Regions from separate parts of the Homo sapiens genome. Here region 1 is linked to region 2. The links are contacts of gene promoters, found by promoter capture Hi-C in blood cells and fetal thymus (Javierre and others, 2016). All regions are on one chromosome and are shown on one strand. Each heading gives the region's core, a stretch centred on a gene start or on the middle of the fragment in contact. The rest is flanking DNA. Distances are from core to core; before and after follow the strand shown.

The links. Contacts are between HindIII fragments. The CHiCAGO score rates a contact against its expected background, and 5 or more counts as called.
Region 1: a contact is called between a fragment that was not itself captured here and the fragment with the promoter of RASD1 in region 2, in 3 of 17 cell types (endothelial precursors, erythroblasts and megakaryocytes). The highest score is 5.7, in endothelial precursors.

What each region holds. Positions count from the first base shown.
Region 1 is chr17:17,528,088-17,531,163 of GRCh38, forward strand. All of the region lies in intron 2 of PEMT (phosphatidylethanolamine N-methyltransferase), which reads right to left. Among named protein-coding and RNA genes, the nearest start is that of RASD1, 33 kb to the left of the region's middle. The HindIII fragment of the contact is 1,809 bases long and covers 871-2,679 here.
Region 2 is chr17:17,494,574-17,497,909 of GRCh38, forward strand. RASD1 (ras related dexamethasone induced 1) reads right to left here and starts at 1,822. Exons shown (of 2, transcript NM_016084.5): 1 at 1,323-1,822; 2 at 1-1,111. The coding sequence starts at 1,608. The coding sequence ends at 552. RefSeq lists silencers at 1,753-1,972, 2,133-2,262, 2,313-2,542. The HindIII fragment of the contact is 31,419 bases long and covers 1-3,336 here.

The DNA of each region.
Region 1 (3,076 bases), core at 525-3,024, 33 kb after region 2:
GAGCTTTGCCAAGGGCCCACGGAACCACTGAAGGAGCCCATCCCTTTTGTTTAGAGGACGTGGGCCGTGCGCCAGCACAGAGGGGCTCATGAGCTCCAAGCTTCCTTCTGCCTTCCTGCTTTTGCCTCCCGAACCGCCCCCATCTCGCTTCTACAGCTGGACCCACCCCTCTGCCTGCCTGACTGGCCCCCTTTCCAGCCCCAGGAGCCGCAGCCAGTGCCTTCTCACTCCTGAACTCCTGCCTTGCGGCTCCGGCAAGATGTGGCTGTGGCCTAACAGTTCACACTGTGTCCACCTCTGCCTGCACTATGCTGAATCCCACGTGGGGCTACCACCCGAGGAGGCACTCAACAAGCACGGGTCTGTGTGGAATGATGGATACATCAGCGCTCCGAGGCCTTCTCTCCTCTCCTCTTTCCCTCGCCTTGCAGGGAGCCAGGAAGGGAGGGGGCCACTAGCTGGGCTCCATGAAGAGAGGAGGGGCCCTAAGGCCCCCAGGGTACCTGTAGGTGACATACAAATGTCTGAGTGAGACGTCCCCGGGGCAGCAGGGAGTCTGCCCATGACTCCTGTCTCTCCCTCATCCCACCCTGGCCCCCCAGAACCTATGAGAGGTCAGGGACCTCAGAGGCGGTGGAGCCCAGCCCTCCATTGGCCTTCTGAACAGAAACTCAGGGCTCCACTGGCATCAGGAGGTGGGATTCAGGATCCCCCAGTCCCACTGGAGTTGACAAGGATGGCTGAGGCTGCCAAGGCTACTGGGCATCCCCTAGGCCGGCCCCGATGGCCCAGGCCCAGCAGCATGAGGACAGCCCATCGAGGCATTTCCTCCCCAGCCCCAGATCAAGGTCACTGTGATACCGTCACATAAGCTTCATGTGCACGCCAAGTGCTGTCCACACCGCGCATCCCAGCGGGGCCTGGACCCCTCTCCCTTCTCACCAGGGCTCATAGTGGATGGGGTGTGTTTGTGGGAGCTCAGCAGAGCCCAGCACAGGACCCAGTCACTGCCAGCTAGGCAGGCCCTGGGCCAGCAAGCAAGTGCATATATGAACAGGCGGCTCTCCGAGGTCGCACCGTGTCAGCCCCCTCTGCTCTGCACACGCTAGGCCCAGCCGGCCCGGTGACCTGGATCACACCTGCCCTTCCCAACACCCAGTTCCACCTGTCCTGCCAGGTGTGCACAGCCCTGGCTCCTTTCAGATCTGCCCCAATCTGGCCAGTGCTGCTGAACCTGGGCCAGGGCCTCTCCAGGACATAGGACCAGTGGCAGCTCAGGGCAGCATCCAAAGCGTCCCACAGCACATGGCTCAACTGCCCTTCCACGTGACACAGCCTGCTCGAGGGCTCCAACAGTCATTGTCTCCAACAGATCAACAGACCTGCCCACTCCACCAGCTAGTCCAGTGAATCAATCCCTGTCCAAGGTGCACCCAAGCTCTCGCCCTGCAGTGAGCACACTAGTGCCAGAGAGCAGGTCCCAGCACCAGCTGCCCACTTCCAGACAACCTGCACCCGAGGCCCCAGCAAAGCAACATGACCCAGCTTCACACCCGAGGGGCCATGGCACAGCGGGGGACACTCGCCTCCCCCAGCCTCAGTGCTCATGCTCAACCTCTTCACTCCGTTTTGCTCCCCGCCTCCTCCATTATGACGGCCCACAGAGCACAGGAGAAAGAGCAATAGGAACATGGGCTCTGAGTTCAAATTCTAGCTCCAGCACTACCTATAGCATCGTATAAAGATGGAACCCACCCCAGTGTCCACTGGCAGGGGGAGGGGCTGAATGAACTGCGCTACAGCCCCACCCTGGAGAAGGGCTCCTTGTAGAAAGGAGGAAGATTTCTATCTATTGCTATGGTGTAAGCTCCAGGATATATTCATTAAGTAAAAAAGCAAGTGCGGAAGGTGCACCCATCCTGTTGTATAAGGACATGAAGAGGGGCTGGGGGAAGATACACACACAGACTTGCTTACATTTTCAAAAAGCAACAGGGGAAGGACAAACCCAAAACTGATCAAAATTATTACCTACAGGTGAGGGAGGAGACATGCCAGACATTTACAAATGTCCTTTGTTGACTATGGAACCATGTAAATGTTTTGCATAATTAAGAGTAAGAACAGGGCAGGCACAGTGGCTCACACCTGTAATCCCAGCACTTTAGGTGGCCGAGGCGGGCGGATCACCTGAGGTCAGGAGTTCAAGACCAGCTTGACCAACATGGTGAAACCCCGTCTCTACGAAAATACAAAAATTAGCCGGGCATGATGGCGGGTGCCTTTAATCCCAGCTACTTGGGAAGCTGAGGTGGGAGAATCCCTTGAACCCCGGAGGCGGAGGTTGCAGTGAGCTGAGATGGCACCATTGCACTCCAGCCTGGGTGACAGAGAGACTCCGTCTCCAAAAAAAAAGAGAGAGAACAAAGGAACTACTAGAAATCCAAAAACTCAATCAATAAACCTGGTAAAAACACAGATAAGAAGTTTCAAGTGATTTTGAAATACAGTATTTTGACTAATCCTCCCTCCTGCCGCACAGCCTGAGGACAAAAGAACCAGAAAGATTCTAGACTGCATCGAGTAAATCTATTGTTGGTGATAAAATATTTAATAATACAGATATTATTATTATTTTGACTATATACACATTAATTATGTTACTGTATTTAGGATCCAAGCTTCCTATAAAAGTGGTACAAAAATGAAATTGAAAGGTTGAACAAAAACTTTTGAAGTGGAAATATTGGTATGAATTCATGATTTATTTCTATTTCTAAAAAATTCATTTTTCCATTACAAAAAATTGGCCGGGCGTAACGGCAGGTGCCTGCAATCCCAGCTACTCGGGAGGCTGAGGCAGGAGAATTGCTTGAACCCAGGAGGCGGAGGTTGCAGTGAGCCGAGATGGTGCCACTGCATTCCAGCCTGGGCGACAGAGTGAGACTCCGTCTCAAAAAAAAAAAAAAAAAAATCATTTTTCCTAGAGAGGCCTGGAACAGTGAGCACCCTAGCATTCAAACTGTGGTCTCCAAATATCATTTTCCACTAAAAATAACCAGAGCTCCTTGGTTAA
Region 2 (3,336 bases), core at 572-3,071:
GTGCAAGTTTTGTTTTGTGTTCCTTTGTGCAGTTTCACTCACATGTAAACAAGTCACTTGGCTATGATTTGACCCACGCCCCCCCGCTTAGTTTTGGGAGGGCAGAGGCTCTACCGGCTGTCACAGCAACCCGGAATCACAGACAAGATAATGCCCCGTGGGTCCTGACCCTCAAGCGGGCATGACGGTTTCTTGAAGCCTAGCAGAGGCTGGATAACTTCACATCCCTCCCCCACCCCGCGCTCACTCTTAGGTCTTTGAGAAGATAAATCCACCCTCGGCTGGGCCCTCGCTCCCAAAGTTATGGGGGTGGCGGGCCTCAATGGGGGACCGGGGGTGGGGAATAGTCCCAGTCTTGGCCCGTTCTCTTTCCTTCCGGAGCAGATGACCGTCCCTTCTCGGTTCAGTGGCGCCTCCCCAGTGCTGGGGGCGGATCGCCGGGAGGGGAGACGCCAGTCCGCGCGCGCTCCCGGCCTGGGGCGCACCGGGCCGTTGGATTTGACTTAACAAAAAGGTCCTCCTTAGGTTGTGTCGCCAGCGCGGCGGGGCTCCTAGCTGATGACGCAGCGCTCCTTGTCCTTGGCCTGGCTGCCGGCGCTGGCCTTCTCGCGGATGTACATGAGGTCGCTGTGTACGCTGGGCCGGCGCGCGAAGGGTGCCACGATGCCAAAGGCGTCGCCCGGGTCGCCGCCGCCGCCGCCGCTGCCGGCCCGCAGCAGCTTCTTGTTCCGCAGCGCCTTCTTGTGCAGCACGTCGCAGTACTGCACCGAGACCTTGCGGTGCAGGTCTGGGCTCATCTCGCTGGGCAGCTTGGCCATGGCGAAGAGCGCGCGGAACATCTGGTCCAGGCTGCTGTTCTTCTTGGCCGAGATCTCGAAGTAGGCGCAGCGCTGGGGGTCGTCGCCCACCAGCTGCTCGATCTCGCGCTGGTCCACCTCGCGGTAGAAGTCGCGGTCACCCTTGTTGCCGCAGATGACCAGGGGCACGTCCACGTTCTCCTTGGTTTTGTTCTTGAGGCAAGACTTGGTGTCGAGGATCTGCTGCCTGAGCCGCTGCACCTCCTCGAAGGAGTCGCGGTTGTCCAGACTGAACACCAGGATGAAAACGTCTCCTAGAGGGGGCACAGAGAGCAGAAAAGGAGAAGGTGAGGGTGGCCGCCCAGGGGACAAGTCGGGCTGACTTTGAGGCCGCGCGGGGCGCGCTAGCCTCTCTAAGCGCGAAGCGCACTACTCGGCGCGCGGCAGCCGGACCGGCGCTCGCGGGGCGCCCTGGCCGAGGGTTCCCCGCCCTTCCCTCCCGCACCTGCCCGGCCCCCGGCTCACCTGTGAGGATGGAGAGGCGCCGCATGGCGGGGAACGGGTGGTTGCCGGACGTGTCGAGGATGTCGAGCTGGTAGACCTCGCCGCGGATGGAGTAGAACTTGCGGTGGAAGTCCTCGATGGTAGGCGTGTAGGCGTCCTCGAAGCGGCCGGTGAGGAAGCGCGACACGATGGCCGTCTTGCCCACCTTGGACGAGCCGAGGATGACCATGCGATAGCAGTTCTTGGCCGGGATACTCAGCTCCGAGTCGCTCGGGCACATCTTCTTGATCATCGCGGCCAGTTTCATTGGGCAGAGGGGCCGCGAGGGCGGGCGCGGGGCCGAGAGAAGGGCAGAGAGCGGCTGAGGGTCGCTGGGGTGGCACGCGGGGTGAGCGGCTGGAGGGCTCTGCTCGGGCTGGGCGCGGCTCGGGCTTGGGGCTCCGGCTCCGCTCGGGCTGGGCTCGGGCTAGGCTGGGCTCGGCTGGGGTTCTCCCAGGATCTGGGCACAGGCCGCTTGCTCTGGCTTTGGCGCCCGGCCGCCGCCCTTATATGCAGCCTGCTCGGCTGCCCCGCCCCGGCCCTCCCAGCTCGGTGCGTCACGCCCCGCGGGGCCCGCCTCCCCCGCACCGGCTCCCAGTCCCGGCGACCTCGTCACCCGCTGCCGGGCTCCTGCTCTCTGGGCGCGGGGGCTGGGGGGAGCAGTCCAGGGTCGGGCTGAGGCTGGAGGCGCTCGGACTCCGCTTTTCCACTGCCGCGGGCTCGGCGGCCGCAGGGGCGTCGGGGTTCTGGTCCCGGCGGTGCCCCTGTCCCTCTGCGACTTCGGGCAAGGACCCCCATTCCTGCACCTCCCGCGCGCGTACACTTATTTTCTTTGGTTCTCAGTTTCCCCAGAGAATAGGAATCTAGTAAGTAACCCAGTAAGCGCAGCAGCGTTTGCTGAGTGCTTGCGCGGACCGTATATTGCAGTCCTCAGAGCACAGCCCCAGCCCCAGCCCCCTTCCGCTCCGGTCCCCAGCCGGGCTCTTGTTCCCGGGAGGCGACCGCCGGGCGGACGCGGGGTTTCAGGGCCTCAGGCGCGGAGCTCGGCACCGCGCGCTCGGGCCGCCAGAGGGCAGCAGAGGGCCCGGCCGGCGGCTCGGGGAGGCTGTGGCCGCCGCGGGCAGAGCTAGAACAGAGGCTAGGAGCAGGCGGGTGGGGAGCGGCAGGGATGGAGCAGGGGTCTCAGGGCGCCTTGCTGGGGCCCAACAGGAGCGGTCCCCAACCCCGCGCTCTGCTGCAGGCCTCAGCCTGCTCCTTTCTCCCAGCCAGAGATGCTCTGTGGTATGGAGGGCTCTGCAGCCAGCGGCCCACCCCGTCCATCATAGCATTTTGGGCTTTTACTGTGCCGCGCGTGGGCCGACGTTCTCATTGTCTAGCTGAGAGACCTGGAGCTCAAAGCCACAGCGAGCCAGGAAGGCCCTGGGAGCACAGCACAGCCTCTTGCTTTCTCCTGGGCCTCAGTTTTCTCTTCTGGAAGATACTGATTCTGGTTCTGTGATTAAGGATGAAAATATGCAAATGCTTTAGGAGGGCGGGGCCTGGTAATAACAATAGCAACAATAACAGTAGTATTGACCCATGAGGCCTGGTGGGGGTACTCTCAAGAGCACACCAGGTCGATCAGTAACCAGGAGTGGGGTGATGTTGCTGAACATTGGCAACAGGCTGTCTGGAGCCAGCTCCTCAGCCCTGAGCTCTTGAGGCAGTCACTGCTCCTCAAGGCAACCTGTGTGCTCAGTGTTTTGCTTTGGCCACGTCTGACTTACGAGAAAACTAGGGAGCCATTAGCTGGCACCACCGGCCCAGCTGTCAGGTGGTGGTCTGCAGGCAGTGCTGTGAGTGCCATACCACCCACCCCATGCCTACCCACCTCCCTCCCACGCTGGCACTTGCTGTAGGGGCTGCTGCAGGACACCACTAACTTGTTTCTCAGCCCAGCTTGGCCCCCATCCTCAGAGTCCCTGCATCTCTCCCAGGCCTCACTCTTACTGTCAGA